2 separate regions of the Homo sapiens genome follow, and region 2 is linked to region 1. The links are contacts of gene promoters, found by promoter capture Hi-C in human tissues and cell types (Jung and others, 2019). All regions are on one chromosome and are shown on one strand. The core of a region is centred on a gene start or on the middle of the fragment in contact, and the rest is flanking DNA. Distances in the headings are between cores, read along the strand shown.

Region 1 (3,059 bases), core at 176-2,675:
GTCTCCTTTGTAGCTGGGATTACAGGCGTGCGCCACCATGCCCAGCTAATTTTGGTATTTTTAGTAGAGATGAGGTTTCACCATGTTGGCCAGGTTGGTCTCGAAATCCAGACCTCAATCCATCCGCCCGCCTCAGCTTCCCAAAGTGCTGGGATTACAGGCATGAGCCACTGCGCCCAGCCTCCCCTTACATTCTTAACCTTGGGGGTGACACAGATAGATCAGCTCCAGGGAGTTATCCAGGTAACTGGAAAGACACGCTAAGGTTCTTAATGTCTACATCTAAACTATCCCAGACTCAATATCTTGCAAAATCCATACTCTAGCCATCCATCGAACAGGATTGCTAAAGAAGAAATCAGATGTAATGTCTAAATAAATCAGCCCCTTGGCACCAGAGAAATAAATTATGGAGTTGGGTGGGGTATCCAAGCCCTCCGGGTCGCATACCACCAGCACACTAGGGGAGAAGTCTACTCACTATTCTCCACTGTAGGATCGTAGCCTTCCGAGAACTCGCCTTCCACAAATTGATGTGCCAAAGATGTCTTCCCTGTGGGGAGCAGTGTGACAGTTGTATCCAAATCATCCATCCACATTCACATCCTCTGTCCTTTCGGACTGTGGCCCAGGACCAAAGGAGACCCCAAATTAACACCACAGTCTGTGAGTGCCTCAAGCAATGCTATCCTTTGTGTCTACCCTCACCCTCTTTTCACCCAGGGTCTCCGCACTTTGGCTACCGGATGCATTCAGAAGCGCAGCAGGAAGCCTTTCCCGCCGCCTTCCCCACCCCATCCCACTCGTAGGAAGATCCAAGATTCCCTAGGATCAAGTCCGCCCCGCCCCAGGACACCTGCGACTATCTGTCCCCACGGAGACCGCGTCCCGGTTTTCAAATTGTGACCCCACCCCTATCCCCAAAGTAACGCTGGGACCACTCTGAGATTCCCGCAGCCAGGTCCGCATTAACCCTTAAGTGCTCCCGCTTCCTGCAGCCTCCACACACCACCAACTCTTCCAATCCTCCACTCTTCCATTCCTCCACTCTTCCAATCCTCGCTCTACAACCCCATCCTTACGATGTCATCATTCCTCCCTGGGTCGCGTTCCCACGGCAGCGCGCCTCTTCTGGCTACAAAGCTGCTGCGCGTCCGAGCTCTGCAGGGCGGAGACTCACCTACACAGCGGTATCCGAGGATGACCACCTTCCTGTAGCGGACTAGCGGCATGGCAGGAGCCCGCCCCAGGGGCTTGCGGAACTGCGGGCTCAGAGAGCCCGAAAACGAGGTCAGGGTGTGAGCAGGCGCGGCAGCTGGTGCAGGAAAGTCGCTCACCCCGAAGCTGCCGTGGGCAAGTTAGAAGGAAACCAAAACAAGCGCCGCGCCCGGAGCTGCCCACGTGATCACAACACAGCACGTCTAACGCCAGGGAGCCGGGCGCCCGGGGAACTACTGAGCCGCGCCGCGCCGGGCTCCGCCCCCCAGGCCGCTCGCCATTGGTCCATTAGAATGGGTAAGGGCGGTGCCGCCAGCAGGAGGGAAGGGTGGGCCTCACGTGGAGCGGGAGAACTGGGAGCTGCGCGTGCGCAGACTGGAGCCGGTTCATTCATAAAGAAACAGAAAGGAACCCGGGGTCCTAAAGGCGTTTGCGCATTTACAGCCTAGCTGAAGTGGCTTCGAAGAATTATGGATGGAAAATACCCGTTTTGTGGTTTCCGGTCATAAGATTCTAGCCCTCCCTTTTGCATGGTCTCTGGGGTCCTTAGATAGGGAGAAAACCGCCAAAGTTCTAGTATATTCCTTCTGCTTCCCCCAGCCTTCAGCCCCAGACCTATCAAGGTTTCCAGTCTTCCAGCATCTAATTTCAAACTGCAATTCTTATTCTTGCAGAAATTGCTAGAATTTATGATCAAGTAGTCTGAGGTTTCTTCTTCATCATCATGATCCTCAAATATTCATTTTTCAACAAATACTGAGTATATACTACATGTTTCAGGCATTGCTCCAGCTTTGGGGTCAGAACATGGACATCACAGACAATGTGTCTGCTCTTATGAAGGGAGAAACAAACATACAACAAGGAAATATCAGAGAGTGTTAAGTGCTGTAGAAGATGGTGTGATGAAAGATGACCACTTTATTTTTTTTATTTTTTTATTTTTATTTTTATTTTTTTTGAGACGGAATCTCGCTCTTTCTACCAGGCCGGAGGGCAGTGGCTCTATCTCGGCTCACTGCAAGCTCCGCCTCCCGGGTTCACGCCATTTTCCTGCCTCAGCCTCCAGAGTAGCTGGGACTACAGGCGCCCGCCACCGCGCCCGGCTAATTTTTTGTATTTTTAGTAGAGACGGGGTTTCACCGTGTTAGCCAGCATGGCCTCCATCTCCTGACCTCGTGATCCGCCCGCCTCGGCCTCCCAAAGTGATGGGATTACAGGCGTGAGCCACCGCGCCCGGCCGACCACTTTATTTTTTAAAGACAATACAGCATTTTTAATTTTTTTTCTTTATTTATTTTGAGACAGGGTTATGAGACTGGCTAATTTTTGTATTTTGGGGAGAGATGGGGTTTTGCTATGTTGCCCAGGCTGGTCTCGAACGCCTAGCCTCAAGTGATCCACCTGACCCGGCCTCCCAAAGTGCTGGGATTACAGACGTGAGCCACCGAGCCTGGCTGAGATGACCACTTTAGTGATACTTTCTCTCATAGGAAACCCCATTTAAACTAAGATCTGAAGGAACCAACTAGGAGATTTCACAAGAAGAATCCACCAATGCTAAGGCGTTAAGATGGAAATAAATTGGGTAAATTCCAGGAAGAGGGGAAGAAAAAAAGAAAGCCAGTTAGCCTAAAGCAGATGAAGTCTAAGAGAATGGCAGAGGCCAGGCCACATAAAGGAGTCTGGGCTAATTCTAAGTACTTGAAGGTATTTAAGCTGGGGCATGACATGATCTAAATTGTCTTTCTAAAAAATCTCCCTGGCTGTAGTGAATAGATTGGGGTTTGAGGGTAACAGGAGCAAAAGGAAGCAGGGAGATTGGCGAGGAAACTGTTACC
Region 2 (3,298 bases), core at 202-2,701, 64 kb before region 1:
GCACTTACAAACAATTTGAGGAACTTCAGAATGCGCTTGTGGGTGAGGATGTACAAAGTATTGCCTGATTCTGGGTCAATAACTGGCAGCCTGTGGATCTTGTTCCGAATTAATGAAGAGACAGCATCAAACAAGCTGTGAGAGGGTGGGAGATAATAAGTTCCACAGTGCTGGGGCTGGGGGTGATTAAACAGGTCCATACAGTGTATTGCTCAACAGGGAAAACTGATGGTTAGGGAAGGGGGGCAGTGTACAGGCCAGACTTAAAGAGAAAGAGAGAGAGAGAGAGAGTGAGAATGAGAGAGAGAGAGAGACTGTGTGTGTGTGTGTGTGTGTGTGTGTGTGTGTGTGTGTGTGTGTGTGTCTTTTCTCTCTTCTTCCCCTTTCCCTGGGTGTCTAGGGCATTAGCTAGGCTGATGACAAAATCTCTTCCGCTTTTTGGACAGATGGGTAACTGGAACTCACCTGGCATTAGGAGAAATGCAGACAAGCGGTTTAAAGGAGTCCTGGAGATACACCTCTGAAGGGAAAAGGGATGGGTCACAAAATACCACCATGGAAAAGTGTTTCCCAGAAACCCGCCATCCCTTTATCCTTTTATAACCCCAATTCTCTACATACCTCTCCAAGTTTCTATCTTGTGTTCTTCTAGCTCATAGATCTGTACCTGAAAGCAGAAGCAACAGAATTTGAGACCTGATCTCTCTGCTTCCTTAAGCCCTCGTGGCTTGCTTGGAGAAAAAGAAATGAGAATGAGGGATTTAGGGCAGGGAAAGTGATTTTGGTCATTGGGTTAAGGTTCCTTACCAAGGCTGATTTATAGTAGCGGTGCAGGATATTGATGAAATCAGTGATGGTCAGCATGCCTAGAGGACAAGACAGAGCCCTCAGCACTGCCTGAAGCTTGTCTCCCTGCCCAGCACAAGATGCCAATAATATTGTGTTCCAGAAACTTTTGCTTACCCACAAAACTTTGCTTCTTACTATCCCATAAAGGGGCAGCTCGTACACCGTTAGTCACCAAAGCAAAAAAAGCTTTCTTCACCTGTAGCCAAGACAGTAATAATCATAAAGGCAAATCCACAGGGGCAGGACTGTAAAAAAAGAACAGTGTTTGGGCATGTTGGGTAAAACATGAGACTAACTTCACAGAAGGATAAGGATATTACCCTTAGGATGAGATAGGATGAGAGGTATTAAACCACAGGCTCCAAAGGGGGAAGGGAAAAGAGGATTTCACCCACCTGCAGGGACGTATCAAATACAACCAATTTGGAGCTTGTGGGAATCAGGTCATAGCAGCGATGAGACTTCATGAAGGAAGTATACACGCTATTGTTGGATTCTGGGGTCTCTGCATAGGGTGGGATAGTTAGTAGCTTCCTTCCACATAAAAACTCCCAATCAAAAGAGACAGAAAACAAAATAGTGTTCTAGTATCTCAAATATTTAGAGCATTATTTTTTAATAAGACCCCTTATTTTATCTGTCTTGTTCCTATTGTTTCCACAAAACCTGGATAAACCTCTTAGAAACCATTTCATCCAACCCCTGTCTCCAGGTTAAGACTTTATCTATTGGTCCCTATAGGTAAAAGAAGTTGACTAAAACATAAAGCCTATAGTATCTCTCTTTAACATGTTATAGTCTAAAAATGTTTCTCATCTTTAATCCAAGCTTTCCCTTTCATATACTTAGCACATTTTCACTTTCCTCTTTTTTCAATGAAGTAAGCTTCTTAAAATTCTTCCAAGACTGTGCTGGGGATGGTGGCAAGCACCTGTAATCCCAGCTACTCAGGAAGTTGAGGCAGAGGATCACTTGAACCCAGGAGCTCGAGGCCAGCCTGGGCAACACAGCGAACCCCTGTCTCAATTAAAAAAAAAATTATTCTAAGACCTGCAAATGGGAAAGTCATGGTCCAAGTTGGGCCATTTCTCATTAACAATAAGTTGGAGCCCAGTGCTCAATCAACCTGGCTCAAAACACCCTGATAGTCCATTCTGGGATCACCCTGTAAATCAGAAATCATCCCACCTACTCTAGACAAATGGGAGATCCTGGCTAGTTTACCTTTTTCTATTCCTGTGATTTTAATTGCTTGCTCTAAACTAGGGAAGTAATCTCCCAAAATAATAGCTTGAATGTGCTACATACTATACTACGTGCACTTAAAAATATTACATTGAGGCTGGGCGTGGTGGCTCATGCCTGTAATCCCAGAACTTTGGGAGGCCAAGGTGGGAGGATCACCTGAGGTCGGGAGTTCAAGACCAGCCTGACCAACATGGATAAACCCTGTCTCTATTAAAAATACAAAATTAGCCGGGCATGGTGGCGCATGCCTGTAATCCCAGCTACTCGGGAGGCTGAGGCAGGAGAATTGCTTGAACCCGGGAGGCAGAGGTTGCGATGAGCCGAGATCGCAACATTGCACTCCAGCCTGGGCAACAAGAGTGAAACTCCGTGTCAAAAAAATAAATAAATAAATAAATAAATTACATTGGCTGGGCGTGGTGGCTCACACCTGTAACCCAGGACTTTGGGAGGCCAAGGTGGGTGGATCACCTGAGGTCAGAAGTTTGAGACCAGCCTGGCCAACATGGCGAAACCCCGTCTCTACTAAAAAAATATAAAAATTAGCCAGGCGTGGTGGCACGTGCCTGTAGTCCCAGCTACTCAGGGGGCTGAGGCAGGAGAATTGCTTGAACCCAGGAGGTGGAGGTTGCAGTGAGACGAGATTGTGCCTCTGCACTCCAGCCTGGGCGACAGAGTGAGACTCCGTCTCAAAAAAAAAAAAAAAAAATTACATAATTTAATCCTTACAACAAATGTGTAAGTAATGTCCTCATGTTTCAGATGAGAAAATAGGTGTAGTTAAATAAACTGCTCAAGGTCACACCATTAATAAGTGGCAAGAAAGACTCAAACAAACCCAGATCTGTTTCCAAACTTCATGCTCTTAAGTCTTTAATCAATTTGGTTTTTAATATTTATTTTTTTAACCAAAGTTATATAGACACACAGTTAAATCAGTCCAACAGTTTTACAAATTTTGTTAAGAAAAAATTGCACTCCTTGCAACCCACCTCCCTGTACTACCCTTCCCCAGAGATGAGAACATCTATCTACCTTAGTTGATTATTTTGGTACTTAATTCTATGTCCTTAAATAACATGCTTGTATTGCTAGTTTCCATTTTTTTTTTCATTTTGGGGCATTATTTATCATCTATCTACCAAAGAAGATGAGAATTTCTAGTTCTCTCTCCTACTAGGACTCCACCACAAACACGTAC

The links. The method cuts DNA at HindIII sites, captures the fragments that hold promoters and counts their contacts. A contact is called where the count stands out against the background at its distance.
Region 2: a contact is called between a fragment that was not itself captured here and the fragment with the promoter of RHEBL1 in region 1, in 2 of the 25 tissues and cell types used here (hippocampus and mesenchymal stem cells).

What each region holds. Positions count from the first base shown.
Region 1 is chr12:49,068,554-49,071,612 of GRCh38, forward strand. RHEBL1 (RHEB like 1) reads right to left here and starts at 1,426. Exons shown (of 8, transcript NM_144593.3): 1 at 1,181-1,426; 2 at 482-553. The coding sequence starts at 1,232. RefSeq lists enhancers at 1,140-1,449, 1,820-1,869 and a silencer at 1,470-1,589. The HindIII fragment of the contact is 9,146 bases long and covers 1-3,059 here.
Region 2 is chr12:49,004,499-49,007,796 of GRCh38, forward strand. It overlaps PRKAG1 (protein kinase AMP-activated non-catalytic subunit gamma 1), which reads right to left. Exons shown (of 12, transcript NM_002733.5): 3 at 1,245-1,354; 4 at 964-1,045; 5 at 808-866; 6 at 622-667; 7 at 466-520; 8 at 9-135. All of the region lies in intron 1 of DDN-AS1 (DDN and PRKAG1 antisense RNA 1), which reads left to right. Among named protein-coding and RNA genes, the nearest start is that of DDN, 6.8 kb to the left of the region's middle. The HindIII fragment of the contact is 3,048 bases long and covers 1-2,975 here.